6 separate regions of the Homo sapiens genome follow, and regions 2, 3, 4, 5 and 6 are each linked to region 1. Evidence: promoter capture Hi-C in 16 types of primary human blood cells and fetal thymus (Javierre and others, 2016). All regions are on one chromosome and are shown on one strand. Each heading gives the region's core, a stretch centred on a gene start or on the middle of the fragment in contact. The rest is flanking DNA. Distances are from core to core; before and after follow the strand shown.

What was found. The method cuts DNA at HindIII sites, captures the fragments that hold promoters and counts their contacts. A CHiCAGO score of 5 or more calls a contact.
Region 2: a fragment that was not itself captured here is called in contact with the fragment with the promoter of F3 in region 1 in 1 of 17 cell types (endothelial precursors); the score reaches 5.5 in endothelial precursors.
Region 3: a contact is called between a fragment that was not itself captured here and the fragment with the promoter of F3 in region 1, in 1 of 17 cell types (endothelial precursors). The highest score is 5.4, in endothelial precursors.
Region 4: a fragment that was not itself captured here is called in contact with the fragment with the promoter of F3 in region 1 in 1 of 17 cell types (monocytes); the score reaches 5.6 in monocytes.
Region 5: a contact is called between the fragment with the promoter of CNN3 here and the fragment with the promoter of F3 in region 1, in 2 of 17 cell types (endothelial precursors and erythroblasts). The highest score is 8.0, in endothelial precursors.
Region 6: a fragment that was not itself captured here is called in contact with the fragment with the promoter of F3 in region 1 in 1 of 17 cell types (endothelial precursors); the score reaches 6.8 in endothelial precursors.

Annotation. Positions count from the first base shown.
Region 1 is chr1:94,540,042-94,543,070 of GRCh38, reverse strand. F3 (coagulation factor III, tissue factor) reads left to right here and starts at 1,312. Exons shown (of 6, transcript NM_001993.5): 1 at 1,312-1,534; 2 at 2,703-2,814. The coding sequence starts at 1,435. LOC124904223 (a long non-coding RNA gene) reads right to left here and starts at 1,097. Exons shown (of 2, transcript XR_007066234.1): 1 at 1-1,097. RefSeq lists a silencer at 1,113-1,392. The HindIII fragment of the contact is 2,211 bases long and covers 369-2,579 here.
Region 2 is chr1:95,035,518-95,038,302 of GRCh38, reverse strand. The region is part of intron 2 of ALG14 (ALG14 UDP-N-acetylglucosaminyltransferase subunit); the gene reads left to right. Among named protein-coding and RNA genes, the nearest start is that of ALG14-AS1, 25 kb to the left of the region's middle. The HindIII fragment of the contact is 291 bases long and covers 1,284-1,574 here.
Region 3 is chr1:95,013,757-95,016,545 of GRCh38, reverse strand. The region is part of intron 3 of ALG14 (ALG14 UDP-N-acetylglucosaminyltransferase subunit); the gene reads left to right. Among named protein-coding and RNA genes, the nearest start is that of ALG14-AS1, 46 kb to the left of the region's middle. The HindIII fragment of the contact is 637 bases long and covers 1,181-1,817 here.
Region 4 is chr1:94,840,810-94,843,679 of GRCh38, reverse strand. SLC44A3 (solute carrier family 44 member 3) reads right to left here. Exons shown (of 15, transcript NM_001114106.3): 8 at 1,556-1,680. Among named protein-coding and RNA genes, the nearest start is that of SLC44A3, 22 kb to the right of the region's middle. The HindIII fragment of the contact is 8,969 bases long and covers 1-2,870 here.
Region 5 is chr1:94,925,806-94,928,505 of GRCh38, reverse strand. It overlaps CNN3 (calponin 3), which reads left to right and starts at 1,396. Exons shown (of 7, transcript NM_001839.5): 1 at 1,396-1,668. The coding sequence starts at 1,612. It overlaps CNN3-DT (CNN3 divergent transcript), which reads right to left and starts at 2,146. Exons shown (of 3, transcript NR_168377.1): 1 at 1,766-2,146. RefSeq lists silencers at 879-1,758, 1,859-2,288. The HindIII fragment of the contact is 4,662 bases long and covers 290-2,700 here.
Region 6 is chr1:94,861,636-94,864,715 of GRCh38, reverse strand. All of the region lies in intron 10 of SLC44A3 (solute carrier family 44 member 3), which reads right to left. Among named protein-coding and RNA genes, the nearest start is that of SLC44A3, 43 kb to the right of the region's middle. The HindIII fragment of the contact is 1,558 bases long and covers 787-2,344 here.

The DNA of each region.
Region 1 (3,029 bases), core at 63-2,562:
AACCTGGATGTGCTATTTCAGTTCAGGCAAAGGAGGAAAATTAAAATTTTGCACAGTTTTATTCTGTTAAAACAAGTGGTTCAGTAAGCTAAACGAGATATGTATATAGTATGCATTAAAATGCAAGACTGACTTCCCTGGGAAAACGTGGGAAAGAAGGAGAGAGGAAACAAACAATTCTTACACTAAGAATTCTCCAGTCGTGTCTTGCAGGCAATATAGAGTAATAATAATAAAAATGACAGGAGATACTTTGACAGGATGGCTTAAAATGCCACTCAATAGATGAAGAGTTGTTCTCATGCTTGGCAAGTTTACAGCAAAGCCCAGAAGGAGAAGCCAGAAAATAATTTAGAAAAACCAAAGCTTAAAACTAGTGGCACACAACTCTGGTTACATTTTTCATTTTCATTTTTGGTTCCTCTGCATTTCGGTGGAACTCAGTCCCACAGATGTCTTCTTCAATGTGGGAACCATCCTTTCTGGAACCACAGAGCTGCAGATGTCACGCTGGAATTCTCCCAGAGGCAAACTGCCAGATGTGAGGCTGCTCTTCCTCAGTCACTATCTCTGGTCGTACCGGGCGATGCCTGAGCCAACTGACCCTCAGACCTGTGAGCCGAGCCGGTCACACCGTGGCTGACACCGGCATTCCCACCGCCTTTCTCCTGTGCGACCCGCTAAGGGCCCCGCGAGGTGGGCAGGCCAGGTATTCTTGACCTTCGTGGGGTAGAAGAAGCCACCGTGGCTGGGAGAGGGCCCTGCTCACAGCCACACGTTTACTTCGCTGCAGGTCCCGAGCTTCTGCCCCAGGTGGGCAAAGCATCCGGGAAATGCCCTCCGCTGCCCGAGGGGAGCCCAGAGCCCGTGCTTTCTATTAAATGTTGTAAATGCCGCCTCTCCCACTTTATCACCAAATGGAAGGGAAGAATTCTTCCAAGGCGCCCTCCCTTTCCTGCCATAGACCTGCAACCCACCTAAGCTGCACGTCGGAGTCGCGGGCCTGGGTGAATCCGGGGGCCTTGGGGGACCCGGGCAACTAGACCCGCCTGCGTCCTCCAGGGCAGCTCCGCGCTCGGTGGCGCGGTTGAATCACTGGGGTGAGTCATCCCTTGCAGGGTCCCGGAGTTTCCTACCGGGAGGAGGCGGGGCAGGGGTGTGGACTCGCCGGGGGCCGCCCACCGCGACGGCAAGTGACCCGGGCCGGGGGCGGGGAGTCGGGAGGAGCGGCGGGGGCGGGCGCCGGGGGCGGGCAGAGGCGCGGGAGAGCGCGCCGCCGGCCCTTTATAGCGCGCGGGGCACCGGCTCCCCAAGACTGCGAGCTCCCCGCACCCCCTCGCACTCCCTCTGGCCGGCCCAGGGCGCCTTCAGCCCAACCTCCCCAGCCCCACGGGCGCCACGGAACCCGCTCGATCTCGCCGCCAACTGGTAGACATGGAGACCCCTGCCTGGCCCCGGGTCCCGCGCCCCGAGACCGCCGTCGCTCGGACGCTCCTGCTCGGCTGGGTCTTCGCCCAGGTGGCCGGCGCTTCAGGTGAGTGGCACCAGCCCCTGGAAGCCCGGGGCGCGCCACACGCAGGAGGGAGGCGACAGTCCTGGCTGGCAGCGGGCTCGCCCTGGTTCCCCGGGGCGCCCATGTTGTCCCCCGCGCCTACGGGACTCGGCTGCGCTCACCCAGCCCGGCTTGAATGAACCGAGTCCGTCGGGCGCCGGCGGGAGTTGCAGGGAGGGAGTTGGCGCCCCAGACCCCGCTGCCCCTTCCGCTGGAGAGTTTTGCTCGGGGTGTCCGAGTAATTGGACTGTTGTTGCATAAGCGGACTTTTAGCTCCCGCTTTAACTCTGGGGAAAGGGCTTCCCAGTGAGTTGCGACCTTCAATATGATAGGACTTGTGCCTGCGTCTGCACGTGTTGGCGTGCAGAGGTTTGGATATTATCTTTCATTATATGTGCATCTTCCCTTAATAAAGAGCGTCCCTGGTCTTTTCCTGGCCATCTTTGTTCTAGGTTTGGGTAGAGGCAATCCAAAAGGGCTGGATTGCTGCTTAGATTGGAGCAGGTACAACGTTGTGCATGCCCCGTATTTCTACGAGGTGTTCGGGACGGCGTAGAGACTGGGACCTGCTGCGTACTGGCAAAGCAGACCTTCATAAGAAATAATCCTGATCCAATACAGCCGACGGTGTGACAGGCCACACGTCCCCGTGGGTCTCTGTGGAAGTTTCAGTGTAGCGACATTTCAGATAAAAGTGGAAAAAGTGAAGTTTGGCTTTTTTCATTTGTATGCAGTCCTAACTCTTGTCACACGTGTGGGATTTATCTTTTTCCATAACTTACTGAAAACCCTTCCTGGCGGGCTGAACCTGACTCTTCCTGAGCTGAGTCCTGGACTGGCACACTGATGGCTCTGGGCTCTTCCCGGTCAAGTTATAACAAGGCTTTGCCCATGAATAATTTCAAACGAAAATGTCAAGATCCTTGCCGGTGTCCTGGGATTACAAGGTGAATCTTGTCATGAAGAAATTCTAGGTCTAGAAAAAATTTGAAGATTCTTTTTCTCTTGATAATTCACTAATGAAGCTTTTGTGGTTGAAAAATAAAAAGTGAGGTTTATGGTGATGTCAGGTGGGAAGGTGTTTTATACATCAATACATTCGAGTGCTCTGAAGTGCATGTAATAATAGCTGTTTCTCTGTTGTTTAAAGGCACTACAAATACTGTGGCAGCATATAATTTAACTTGGAAATCAACTAATTTCAAGACAATTTTGGAGTGGGAACCCAAACCCGTCAATCAAGTCTACACTGTTCAAATAAGGTAAGCTGGGTACAGAAAAAGAAAATTAAGGTCTTTGATGTTTCTACTGTCCTATGCTGAACAAGAATGTCTTTAAAGCTGATTACTGGATGAAATTATTTAACAGATGACGAAGAAGAAGGGATTCTTGGCAATTCGCTGGCCGGTGTCATACTCTATTAGGCCTGCAACATTTCCAGACCTTAAACTGATAGAACATTTTAATTGTTTTAATT
Region 2 (2,785 bases), core at 180-2,679, 500 kb before region 1:
TGGCCAGGATGGTCTCAAAACTCCTGACCTCAGGTGATCCAAACACCTCGGCCTCCCAAAGTGCTGGGATTACAGGCATTACAGGCGTAAGCCACCGCGCGTGGCCAATTTTTTGTATTTTTAGTAGAGACAGGGTTTCACCATGTTGGCCAAGCAGGTTTCAAACTCTTGACCTTCAGGCAATCCACGTATCTTGGCCTCCCAAAGTGCTGGGATTACAGGTGTGAACCACCGCACCTGGTCCAGTTTATTACTTCTTACTTGGTGCTAACATTATATTTAATAATTGTCTCATATTATAGTTATCCCTTTGACTGCAATTATCACTTTTCCTGTGCTGTCCTGATAGACTGCAGTGAGTTCCTTGTGAATGTCTTATTCACCTCTGTTTCCCTAGCCCAGTTCCTGTCACCTGGCAGGTGCTTGTTGAAAGTTTAATGAAGAAACAAGTGAATGAATCCATGCTTAGAGAGTACAGCTCTGAAATTCAATGTCGTAAACAATTGTTTCATACATGATTTTAATATATATATTTTATTTTAAGAAAAGGAATGCAATTTTCTTACCATTTTAAGGACAAAGGAAGGGTGCTTCAACTTCAAGTGACATAAACCTACGCTTAAAATTGGCTTGAACAATAAAGGGAATTTGTCAACTTACAAAACAGGAAAAATTCAGTCTTATTTCTGGCGAGGCTTGGTCCGGTTGCCCAGGCATATCCCTATAGCAAGAGTTGTCTCTCTGCTCTGTCTTCTGCAGTGGCAGCTCCACCGGGCTTCCCACAGTGCTGCCTCCAGCAGCTCCAAGCTCTCTCATTAGGGTAACAAAAACCTGTAGCACCTCCTGGCCTCATGTCTCTTCCTCTTCATGAGGAAGAAGAGGATCTCTTACAGCATATGGGAGAGAGAGCCCCAGCAAACATCTCCTGCCTCATGGTACTCCAGTGGGGTTATACTCCCATCTTTCAGCTAATCATTGTAGCCAGGAATGATTCCTCCATGTTGCTTCAGCCATTCCAGGCCTACTCTTAGAGGCAGGGTTAGGGGTGAAGGGGACAGGAGGCAAATACCACCAAACCGTCCGGCTGAGAATATGAGAGGAATGAGTTACCCAAAGGAAAATTGCGATATTGTCAAAAGAAGGAGTCAATAAAGGCTGAGAGAGAATAAATGTGCATTTATAAAAGGCTTTAAAAATCTTTTGAGCCAGAATCCCATAATTTTTTCAGAAACAAACTACTTTGTTTTTCCCTGAAGTCTCAGACCACCAGGCAAGGAGAAGCTTCTGGAGGTAAAGTGAGGGGTGGTTTCAGGCCCTGGGGCAGAGCTGGAGTGCAGCCTCATTTCTCTTTGACAAGCCAGTCTTGAGCCAGCTGTGGGATCATGGTGGCTAGTTAAGGATCCCTGATCTCAGCTAGCCCTCCTTGCTTCACAGTGGGACACTGAGGTCCAGAGAGCTTGATTCATGCAAAGTAAGTGGTTATCAGCAGGACCCATCATGGGACTGTATTAGTCTGTTCTCATGCTGCTATAAAGAACTGCCCGAGACTGGGTAATTTATAAAGAAAAGAAGCTTGGGCCAGGCGCGGTGGCTCACGCCCTTAATCCCAGCACTTTGGGAGGTCGAGGTGGGCGGATCACCTGAAATCAGGAGTTTGAGACCATCCTGGCCAACATGGTGAAACCCCGTCTCTACTAAAACTACAAAAATTAGCCGGGTATGGTGGCGCATACCTGTAATCCCAACTACTTGAGAGGCTGAGGCTGGAGAATTGCTTGAATTTGGGTTGTGGAGGTTGCAGTGAGCCGAGATCGCACCACTGCACCCCAACCTGGGCAACAGAGTGAGACTCCATCTCAAAAAAAAAAAAAAAAAAAAAAAAAGAGGTTTAATTGACTCACAGTTCCACATGGCTGGGGAGGCCTCAGGAAACTTGGAATCATGGTGGAAGGCACCTCTTCACAGGGTGACAGGAGGGAGAATAAGTGCCCAGCAAAGGGGGAAGCCCCTTATAAAACCATCAGAACTCATGAGAACTAACGCACTATCACAGGGGAACTGCCCCCATGATTCAATTATCTCCACTTGGTCCTTCCCATGGGGGTTATGGGAACTACAATTCAAGATGAGACTTGGGTGGGGACACAACCAAACTATATCAGGGGCCCACAGCACCCTCACTTATATGACACTTCATGGCATTTCATCAGCACCATAAAGTATCTACCAAGTACTTGAAGGACATATAAAAAAAAATTTTGTGGTAAATTATGGTCATCTTGATTTCATAATGATTAGTTGAACCATCCAACATACATTTAAAAATATACATTGCATTATTTTTAAATAGTTATGAAAGAAAGCTGAAACCATTTTTGGTTGAATGAAATTTTACCATTTTAACTTTGTCTTGTTTCCAGGACTTTTCAGTCGTGTGGCATTCACTAAATAATAAAGGTATTGTATGTTTCAGTGTGTGGTAACAGCAAAGAATGACTTCATCAACCACTTGATCTCCTCTGTTGTGGTTTATGATGCCATCTGGATTCTTTGGTGGAATTATTTCCATCTAAATCACTATAAACTCCTATTTAGTTTTCACAAATCTAAAGCCAGATATGTTTGTGGTTTTTAACAGTGATGTAATTCTGGAACATACTTTGAAAGTTACAAGTTGTCATATACTGTTAGTATTTAACTCAGTGTTTCATATACTATCAGACACTAGAAGCCTGAACAAAATCCATTTCTCTGTTTTTTCACTCTTCAGCATCCTACTTTTCTT
Region 3 (2,789 bases), core at 250-2,749, 470 kb before region 1:
ATTTATATTTATATCTTGGTGGGTTTCTAAATATAAAAATCAGCATGTGTCTGCATATTCCCTTTCCTCTTTTTATTAGAGCAGTCATATTATTCAATGGTCATTCTCTGATGGAGAAGGCATTTGTACACTTAGAATTACAAACTTACACAGATGATACCTTACCAACAATTTAATTATATACCCTATTTTTAAAGTTTAGATAATAGAACCAAAAGAAGGGAGTGCCTTGTCCAAAGTCTTAGAACTAATAGGAAAGCATGAATAAAAAAAAAACAGTTCTTGTCACTCCCAGCTCCAGGTTCAGCTCTCTGACCACACAACAAATGAGACATCATAGACTCTTCTCTCGAAGGGTATCAGGTGCTGTCTACATGGATAGAGAAAATGGGCTTGGGCAACATGCATACCAGGGTTTAAAATCTAGGTCTGCCACTCTACCATTTGGACAAATTTAGGTGAGCTGTTTATTCTCCATAAACTTCCTTTTCCTCATCTGTAGAACAGGGACCATGATATCTACTTCATAGTCTTGTGTGAACATTCATGCATAAGAAGCCCCCATGGTAGGTTGCTGGATCTTTCTCCTCTTTTGTCATTAAGTTAAATATTCTCTTCCAGAAATCAAGAGGCTAATAAGGAGTTAATAAATGTTTTAAAACTTAGACCACGGAATGTCTACACAATGCCCAGTTTGGATGCTATGGTATTCTGACTGTTTTCATGTTGATTTTCATGCCACAGTGAGCCTCTTCAGGCATGGAAACAACCAAGGATTATTTGCTTCTGTCTTCTTTGTTTTCCAGCCCTCTTATATTTTCATCACAGACTCCATCGCTTCCAAAAACAGTGTGTCAGGATTTACTAATGAATTTCAGCTCTGTCCTGCTGGACCACCATTCAAGGACATCCGTCCAAACCCGCCCCTCTCAAGAAGGGCTTATCCACATGCACCTGATTTACAAACAACCTTAGTTCCCCAGTTTGGTTCCTCATTTTCTTGAGGCTTCTTCTGAGGCTTTTTGTCTTGCACCTTTACTCCATCCAGATCTTGCCCTCCTGTGAACTCCTCTTGAACTTAGAGCTTAGCATTTAATTGTTCTCTAGTCATTTAACTTCTGCTGAATTTTCTCCCTCCCCAAATTAGATTGTGAGTACTTTAAGAGTCAAAAACCAAGCTTTCTGGCTTTATTATCCCTGTGGAGCTTAGCAGTGTGTCAGGTGCTTGGAGAGGTCTTTGATTAATAACTGAATAGTAAGGAACTGGAACACGCTAGTTCTACCAGATGGAAATTAGCAGCACCCAGTCCCAGCTCCCTGCAGATCTCCATCTCTCTCGGTTAAATATCTCGTCCTCAGCTAACACCCTCTGATCCCTCCTGGATCCCACTGAGAGGTGAATGGCATTCACAAGCCCCTTGAACTGCTTCTTGGCTCACCTTTATTACCCTGACTTGCTCCCAACCCACTATCAGGTGTGTTCTGCCCTCTTTGTTATCAAAGAAGGGGGACTTAGGCCTCCCCTATTCTGAGTGCCGTGGCAAGTTTAAAACTGTATAGCGCTCTCTTCAGATTGCAAAGGGTTAGGAATCATAATGAAGCCTTAGGAACTCGAGTCTTTTTCTGCTGCCATTCCATCAACATGCTCACTTAATTCTTAAACAAAATGCTATTCATTGAATTACTTTTTATTTCTTAAGATAGCCTGAAACTATTAATATGGTGCAAGACTTTCTGATGTCATTGCTCTGGGATCATAAAACCTACTTGTCAAAGCTATTCTTTGAAGTTATTTAGCCATAATTTTGTTATAAGCTTTTTATTTACAAATAAAAATTATTTATAAATCAATTTGTAAATAATTGTAATTATAAGTTTACATGTAATTTTAACTATTTGTAGATAATTCAAAAAATTATTTACAAATTTGTTTTTATTTTGTATTGAGTAACTGCTGTGAGCTGAGACTAGAGCTAGGCACCATGGGAAATGGAGATGGCAATTTGTGCTCAGAAGAGTTTGTAATCTAGAATCCAGCCATGGCCCCAAGTCTGAGGCTAAGAAGGAAGGATGATCTGGACTGGGAACAGAATTGACCTGCCTCAGGGTTCCAGACTGAAGCATCAGTGTGATTTTTTAGAGGTGTTTTAAATCACAGGCCCTATTTTGGGGGTGAGAACAGGTTAATTAGCCACTATTCCATTATTCCAGGCTGCACAAACTACATAGTAAAGATTATGGCCTAAGGCTTCAGGATGTCCAACAGAATAGTTCTGAAAGTCAGGGGAAGCAAACGCTCTTCAAAGCGCCCAGAACAAATAGCCCTTTAGGTCAGTTCTTAAATCAATAACAGATCAGTCACCAGAGGAGGAAGTCTGTTTCACAGCCAAACAGTGAACAATGCTGTACTGAAACCCTAAGCTCCCATGGTCTCTGGGGAGTAATTAGAACTTGTTCAGTAATCAGCTAATTTGTATTTCTGGGAATGATTCTAAATAAAAAATGATAAAAGTTGGATAAAGGGTAAACTATAGACCATTGCTTCATAATGGAATTGCATAATTCAAGTGGGGAATCATAAATTTGGAAATGCTGGAAGGGTTTTTTTTTTTTTTTAAGAAAAAAGTGATTTAAAGGCAATGCTAATAAAATAAAAATAACCCATGACTAAAAATATATGCTGAAGCATTTTATCTCACTGGAACCTGAGAACAGTAAAATATCCAAGCTGGAGTCTAGTCTACTAGACTAGTCTAGTTTTCTCACTAGGCCTATAAATTAATTTTGAG
Region 4 (2,870 bases), core at 328-2,827, 300 kb before region 1:
AAGGGAACTTCCTGCAAGTCACACCCCTGCCCATGTGACCTCATGCATGCTGTGCCCTTGGCCTGAGATGCTCTTTCTCTTCCAGCTTTGCTGGAGCGTTTCTGCCGTCAACAGTCAAGTGGAGGAAAGACAGTGACAGTGGATAAACTGCAGAAGCTGCTCCAGGATCTGGGAGCACAGCCTCCTGACCATGCAGGGAGAGGTGTCAGGAGAGGCCCCGCAAGACACCCAGAGGAGACCCTTCAGTTGTAAAGGCTGAGGAGGAACTTCCATCTGGGCTTTTCTGAGGATGAGTGAACTAGCTCATCTAGCAACCGGGAATTGGTAAGAACTCACAACAAATGAACGGGAGGTGAGCTGGGACTCAATTCTGCCTTATAGAGTAGCCCCTGTGCAGAACTCATGGACCCAGGTGAAAACAGCCTCCCTGCTCACATGGCCTCCCCTCTCCCTAACCTTGCCCCGGCCCTGAAATCTGGGTGGCATAAATGGTGCAGTGTACAAACAAAAAGGGAGCCCTGTGGAGGGTAGACGGAGGAACTGGACCCTCCCCAGCCCCCAGCCCTGCTCCTCTTCCCCTATGCCCAGCCTGGGGAATGGGGAAGCCCTTTCATCTCCAGCCTCCTCTGCAGACTCTGTTGAGTGTCTGGTCTGGTCCCTGCCTGAGGCGAGAGCAACCAGGTGCTTTACTTTATTGTACCCTTACTCCCTGGCACATTTTATGTGAAGATCACAAACCCAAAACCTCACCGTGGAAAGGAGAAAATGTGAAAACTACCAAATATGAGAATAGAAGGATTTCCTATGAGAGAATTTTGTTGGTGTGAGAATCTGCATTTGCTGCAAGATTCAATGGGCTTGTGGAAACCCCTGGCTGCAGCTGCTCCACAGAACAGTCAGTAAGCAACACACCAGCAACGACGACTCTGGGGGACCTGAAGCCAGTGTGGGGTCCGCCCCAGGGCCTTGTGATTTGAGCCTTCCTAACGGCCCCTGGAGAGGGTCCTGAATGACATTTGGTTGCCAACCACCCACCACCAGTAACTAATACCTGCTCCCTCAATATTCTAAGTCAGCCTGTTTTCAGCTAGAGAGTTCACTGAGGAGGCAGCAAGTTCTCTGAACACCAAAATAACCCAGTGGCCAGCGGGTTTGGAAACAAAGGGCTCTGTGTGCTAGAGGGCAGCGGAAGCTGAGCATACACTGGCAAAGGGGAGCCGCACCTCACAAACAGGGAATGGGAACTGCCGTAAGCCTGCCTCCGCCCACCCACCATGCCCACCTTGTAGCCCCTTGGGGCTGAGAACAGTGCAACAGCAAGGATAACACAGTAGTCTCTGGGAGGTGGCAGAAATGACTTGGGAAGAACTAAAACCTTTTTTTCTTATTTTTGAAGAGTTTTGAATTATCCCTATACAGGTATCTCAAATCCAAAGAAGGCACATTCTAAATCAAAAGAAAAACAAATTATAGTTGTTTTTGGCTAGAATTCAATGATTTGGATTTCAGAGTCCTGGCTGGCTACCTGACCTACTGCTAGAAGAGCATTTCTTACCGTGATGCCTGTGGATACGATAGCAAACCCCAGCACGCACTTCATATTTTCCCTTTCTGTGTCCAATTCTATGCTGAGGTCGTTGGTATAGTCATAATACAGCCACCATAAAACACCGCAGACAACTAGAAAAGAGAACAGTAGCAGAGCTCAGGGCACACGCCATGAGGTAACCTTTCCCCAGCACACAGAATCACACAGGAAGTCCAGCCACTGCCCACCGGCCGCGTGGCACTGCTCTGGCAGTGGGTCCCAAATACCCGGACCCTACAAGCAACTGCTGCCCTCTGGAGAAGCTGGGCAGAGCCAGGGCAACCCATAGAGGACCCACAAGTTCTGGGATGATGCTTGTTTTGGGAGACCCAGGATGGTGACCCCAGAACACAGGCACCTAACCCACAGGTTGGGTCTGGATGCGAGCAGGAGGAAAACCCCATGGACAGGATGGTGAGAGGGACAATGCCAGAGCTCACTGTCTAAATGTTTTAAGCAAGCTCTGGTGGTGATAACTCCTGTGGAGCCTGGATATTGGCTGCTCACCCACAAAACCAGGAAAATTTACACGGCCTGTGGGAATCATGGAAGTCAGAAGCTCATTTGGAAGATGCCCTGACATTGCAAGTACTCCACATTTAGGTACGAAATACCACCTTATGCCATATCCACAGTAACTATAGGAAGGTTGGAGTGGACAGGAAGAAACAACCCTCAGAAGTCATTGTGCCTGTCCTCCGACACAGGGCTACAGGGCTCTAAGTTGCTGAGGGCAGAGCTGATGACTCAGGGGAAAGAAACATGACAATCACATCAGTTTTTAAAAATTAAAATATAGTCATCCACTGCATGATGACATTTTGATCAACAATGGACTGCATATATGATGGTGGTTCATGAGATTAATAATACTGTACTTTTCTGTGCTTAGATGTGTTTAGATACACAAATACTGACCATTCTGTTACAGCTGCCAACCGTATTCTGTACAGTAGCATGCTGTGCAGGTTCGTAGCCTAGGAGTAATAGGTTATACCATGTGCCTGGGTGTGTAGTAGGCTCTACCATCTAGGTTTGTGTAAGTGCACCCTGTGATGTTCACACAATGAGGAAATTGCTGAGTGATGCATTTCTCAGAACACATCCCTTCCTGTCATTAAGTGACACCTGATTGTACCCCACACCAGTTGGTAAATGGCTGCTGCCTTGAGCCTCCTGCGTGCCCTTGTCCCTCGGACCTCTTTCCCAACAACTGCTGGTGAGATCCACAATCCAGCAACCGGGAGGGAAATATGGGCACAGTACAGGGTCTCCAGGACTC
Region 5 (2,700 bases), core at 147-2,646, 390 kb before region 1:
AGGATGTTCCTGAACTCCAGGCCTCAAGCAATCCTCCCACCTCGGTCTCCCAAAGTGCTAGGATTACAGGCATGAGCCACCACACCTGGTTCACCTTACTCACTTCTATTCCAGGACGGTTCAACTATGATGTTTTGGCTCCTCTTCTCAAGCAGCTTTCCACACCTGGTTCCATGATCTCTTCTGGCACAGTAGCTGGTATTTGGCAAACATAGGTTTCATCCTGGGATCTCAGGGATTGAAATCTGTCCTAGGTGTGCACCAGAAAGTGGTGGCAAGAGATGAAGCTTCGGAGGAGGCTGACCTCGGCCAGGATTCTTAAGTCTCAAAGTTTCAGCTTTCTCACCCCTCAACGGACATGAAATCTACCTATTTGTAACTCCAGGGAAGTAAATGAGATAATGTTTGGAAGATATCTAGTCTACCAGCTGCTCAGGCGGGGGGCGAAGGTTCTGTTCCCTGTCCCTTCTCTATCAAATGGCTTTAAAATCAGAAGAAAGTATTACGGGTAGGAAATGGGACTGCGAAAAAAATGGAGGCTGATTCTGGCCTAAAGGATACTTATCTCTATACAAAGGGCTTCTGATTCAAAGAGGCCCCGGGATTCAAAAACACAAGCAGAGCTACACCACGTGGGGTTTGGGACGAGCTGAATTCCGGATAAAGATGCCTGTAAAGAGGAGTTGATGCGAATCCAGAAAAGCACTTGAAATGCCCAGGCTTTGCATGGCACATTCCCCAGGATTTTTTCGCACCGCATTTAGAGGTTTAGACGGAGTGAGCTCGAATCAGGCCAAAAGCCTTAGGTTACTCCTGGGCGGCAGCGGGGCAGAGGTCAGATCAACAGGTGTGGAAGGCTGCGAGGTGAGGGAAGAAGCAGGTGTCGGTGGAGGCCCCAGTTCCTCCGGCCCAGAGGCTCCAACGCTGCTATTGGTGTTCCAGCAGCGGGCGGAGGGGTCCTGCCCGGCATCTGGGCGCGCTGGGCCCAGAGCCCGGGAGGAGGCAGACGGAGGCGGCGGGTCAGCGGCGGGCCAGCCCCGGTGGGCTTCCGCTCCCCTCCGCCGGCCCGGTCCGGCCCGCCGCGGAGGATGCCTGGAGGTTGACGTGAATGGCCTGTGGCTGGGAAGCCCCCAGGCGCCCTGCCTAGCCCGGGGGCGGGGCCGCCTAGCCGCCGGCCCCGGTGGCGTGAGGGCTGGGGCGGGGGCCGGGGACCTCGCGGGGAGGGAGCGGGAGGGAAAGCGGCCCCCGCGGCCCTTCAATTGGCCGCACCGCCCCTCGGCGCAGAGGCGGGAGGAGGCGGCCCTCCATTGGTCGGGCCCGGCGGCCAATCCTCGAAGGCCCAGGCGGAGGCGGGGGCGGCCTGTGGGGAACCGAGGTGCGGGCGGCGAGCGAGGCAGCCGGGTGCTTCGCAGCGGAGCTCGAGGCTCTGTAGCACCCAGTTGGACCCAGTCGCCCAGGCACCGCCCGCGCCCCGCGGCCGTCTCCTGCGCCTCCCAGAGGAGGGAGTTCGAGCATCCCCCGCGGCGGCCACTCCTCGGGGCCAGGAGCGGGGAAGCGAAGTGCGAGAGACCCCGGACCCCAGCGCTGTCTCTTCCCGCCGCCCGAACCACCATGACCCACTTCAACAAGGGCCCTTCCTATGGGCTCTCGGCCGAAGTCAAGAACAAGGTACGCCTGGCTCGGGCGGGCGCGGGGGCCCCCGGGGCACCCTTGGGCTGGCCTGGCGCTGGGCCGTGCTTCGTTTGCTCTTCGCGCTGTGGCTCACCGTTTTCCTGGAGAGGGGCCGTCGAGGCGGCGCGAGCGTCTCTGCCTGTCCCGGTCGCGTCCAGTCCCCGGGCTTGCGGGGCCGGCTCCCGGGCACCCGCCTGGCTTTGTTCCCGCGCCGTGGGACAGGACTAGTGGCTGGCGGTGGGTTCCCGGGCGCCTGGAGTCCCGCGGCGCCAGCCTTTCCGGCTGCGGGGGTCTCGGGGGCCGTTTGGTGACTGCAGAACGCGCCCTCCGGGAAGGGGGCGCTCCTGCGTGGCCACTCGCCCTTAGGCGGAGCCCGTCTGCGCGGCCAGGGACCCGGCGAGCCGCTGCCGCAGCCCCCGCCATCTGCCCGGGCCCCGGGTGCTGGCGGACTCCGCGCCTCCCCACGGGGAGAGAGACCGCCTAATGTCCCGCCGACCCCAGGGGCCCCGAGGAACGGAAGCCGGTCCGGGACCCATCACAGTCTCCGATCTCGGTGCCTGGGAGGCATTTGGAGGCAGATTGCTGCTGCTGCTTCTGCTGTTGCTTTTGCGGGAAATGGAGACAAAGCCTGAGCGCGCCACTGTGCGAGTGATATCTGCTTAGGCTTGAGACTTTTTATGAAACACTGAGAAGTTTGAAGTACATTAGACTTTCACGACATAAAGGATTATTTTTGTGGGTTGCTTTTGTTTGGGGCTTGTTTGCTGAGGCGGCTTATAGTTTGGAGCGATTGGGATTTGGTGACGCTCAGCTTTGCCACTGAGCCCAAGAATGCGTTAGGTTTATCTTTAGGACTTTTGGCCTGGGAAAGAGATGAGAGGCGTCCCCCTCCCCAAATCCTCTCCTTCCTTCCTCCCTCCCTGCATTCCAAGCCCATGACATCAGGGGTTTCTGGGGGGAGAGACCAGCCAATCGGCGCGGAACTGTGCACAGAACGCTCATTGTCTCCTTTCTGCTGTTCTGGCCAAA
Region 6 (3,080 bases), core at 316-2,815, 320 kb before region 1:
TAAAAACACTTTTTATAAAGCAGCAAAAGCTCTCTGGTTCCAATCATCTGTGGTACTAACAACTTAGAAAGTTGTGACATAATAAGCATTTGGCGAACTTTTTATACTCCTTGGTAGCTTCGGTTAAATTGTTTCTTGTATTAATTTAATTCGTTTTGGTGCCACTTAATGCTACAAATAAAACAGAAAAAATTTAAAAAAATTGATGAGTTAAAAAAGTTTCCCTCTTCATAATGCAGAGCCCATCCACCAACCCTTTAGGGTGCCTATTCATCTCATTTTCACTTTCAGAATTTTAATTGCGGCACAATCTCCAAGGTTTAACTTACACAGGAGTATACATAAATATTGCCAGCATTCACCTGGTGATTAAAAATCATCACCAAATCACATGACCAGGATCAGTGGCCAGAGAGGTAATAGTGAGCTCCCACTTACAGGAAAGGGACAGAAAGCCCTGGGTGCTTGGCTCCTACACAGCTCTAGGCTCCCCAAATCCTGCTGGTTTCTACTCTGCTCTTTAAAGGTCACTTCAGTGTGAATCATTTACGGGACTTGTCATGACGCAGCTCCCAAGAATGTGTACAAGTCAGTTTCACAGGCAGGGAAAAAAAAGTGAGAAAGAACAGAATGGGCACAGCCATCACTCTCCCCTAACCCTGAAAGATAAAACAAAGGAGTGGGGGCTGATGCCACCCCACGGGTGACCCTTTGAATTCCCGCTGAAGCCAGTTCTAGAAAATAAGGTCTTTCTGAGAAGCAACTTCACAGATTCCAAGTGAAGCTTGGTTTCTTTATAATGGATTATTCTACAACTTGCTCTGGTTGCTAATAAGTCACTATGAATTAAGGTTTTGACAGCAGCCTAGGTTTTGAGAGAGGAAAAGGAAGGCAGCCAGAAATGTTTCAAGAGTTGGCAATGGCTGCATTTTGCTGTTACTCAAATCAGCCAGGAAGAAAAAGAGAACATGAAAGTAATATTGGGAGCTGAAAAACTGCAACCCAGTTGTCCCACAAAAAAAAAGGATGTGTGTTTCAACACAGTGTTATTTAAAGTAGGAAAAACCACGGAAGCTATTGCTAATAGGAATTCATTTAGATCTGATAAACTAGAAGAGTAGTGTAGGCCAGGAAAATCTGACACACTTTTTTTTCCCTTCCCTCATTTTTCTTTTTTTTTAAGGAAGAACGTTTACTTTTCCATTGAGGAGATTTGTGTGCCTTAGAACTTATTATGGTGCTCAAGAGGGGAGGCAGGGAGAAGAGGACAACACCTGCTTTCCATCTGGTAGGGAAACACATGATTCATAGGCCTCTGTGAATGAGGGCCTTGGGGTTAGCCCTCCAGGTATTAGAGTTTGGGGTTAGGCATCAGCTTTCTGAGGTTTCACTGTGATGGGGTTAACCACTTCAGGCAGAGGAGTACCTGCACTGCCTCAGCTTCCCTAGTCTGTAACACATCCTGGTTATGGCTGGAGGCTCTGCCTGGCTTGGCTGGAAGAAGATGCAGAGGTTCCAGAAGCTGGGTTATCACGTGATGGGAGACGGAACTTAAAAAGAGGGCCCTTTCAACCCAAGCCAGCTCTTGGAGCCAGGAGTCACTCAATACCTGCCCTCAAAACTAGAAACAGCCCTACAGAAAAAAAAGGCTAATGAAGTGGTGTGTCTCTGAGGCCCCCACCTAGTCTCAGACTCATTTCCATGTTCAAAGGTAACGTCATCCTACCACCTCTCCCCTGCTGTGTGTGGGGCTAGTGCCTCCAGCTCTGTCTCCCTCACAACCAGCCAAACCTGCCTTCAGGAAGAGGATCTGACACACCCAGTGATGCTAAATATAATACTTACCTCTGGACTTATTCATATTTTAAGAATTGACCTGGGGGACAACATTCCAGTGTTGAGCATATGGGGCAACCCAGCGATGAGTGTATTAGGAGGCTGGGGAGGACTGGGCCCCCAGTCAGCCTTCCTCATCTCTCTCTAGATCTTCCCACTGGACCACATCCACCCCAATTCTGTGGGTAGTGGCAATAAGGAAGACACGGGCAGTGTTAGAGGGTAAGGCGACTCTAGCATATGCCCCATGAAGCCCAGCTTCCCCCTTCCTTTGGATGTGTGGCTGCTTTGAGTGCTAATGGTGCCTGGCTCCCAGAACAACGAAGCCAGTTGCCCAAAATACCACATCAATCCAAGCTGTGGGGCAAAGGGTTTAATGGTCCCATCCATCCAAGTCCTCTAACACCTTTGGGTCATGGTACAAAGTACTGTTTTGTAATTTCTACTCCCATCAGACAACAGAGTGCATACAGCCAGGCAAGCCGCATCATGGTCCTAGAGACAAGCTTTGGCTCTAGTTAGATCCAGCCTCGTGCTCACTAAAAACTCTTCTGACATTATGGAGAATTAATTTTGTGCTGAGGCTCCTGGACTAGGTGTGGGCTGCATGGGACAAATGGCCTCCAACGTAAAGCTGGTCCCAGCAAAGGACTGTGTGGTCCCTGTAGAGACCATGTCTCTTCCAGTATTTCTTACAACAAAATCACTGCAAGATGGGGTTTGGAGGGCTGAGAAGGTTGTATGTTTCTTTCCTATTCTACAGAAAATGAAAATCGTCTTTATTAGAAAGAAGAGGATTCTTTAGCTGGCCTGGGTAACTCTTGCTAGGTTAGGAAATTCATCTATCTCTACCTAAATTCCTTAGGCTCTGCTATGAATCCATTTCCTCTTCTCCATCTGTAGATATAGAGCAGCTGGAAACCCTCTTTTGTATATTTGAAAATGATGATGAAGTCACACCTCAAGTGTCCCTCCACCACCCTGAAGGGTTCTAGCTCCTTCCTATCACATCCCTAACACCACCTTTATGGCTCTCAGTTGATCCTTCTTCAAGCAAATGGTTGTAAAAAGTAAATTCTACAGATTGCCCATATCCTGGTACCTGATGGTATTTGTATGAACTCTTCAGCCCTCGTAGTGCATAAATGAATGACAAAGATGAATGCACCCTGGCTATATTTAATCCTCACCCTGAGTGCAGGCCAGAAAAGGATACGAAGAATTGTGAACTTTGAAGATTAGGA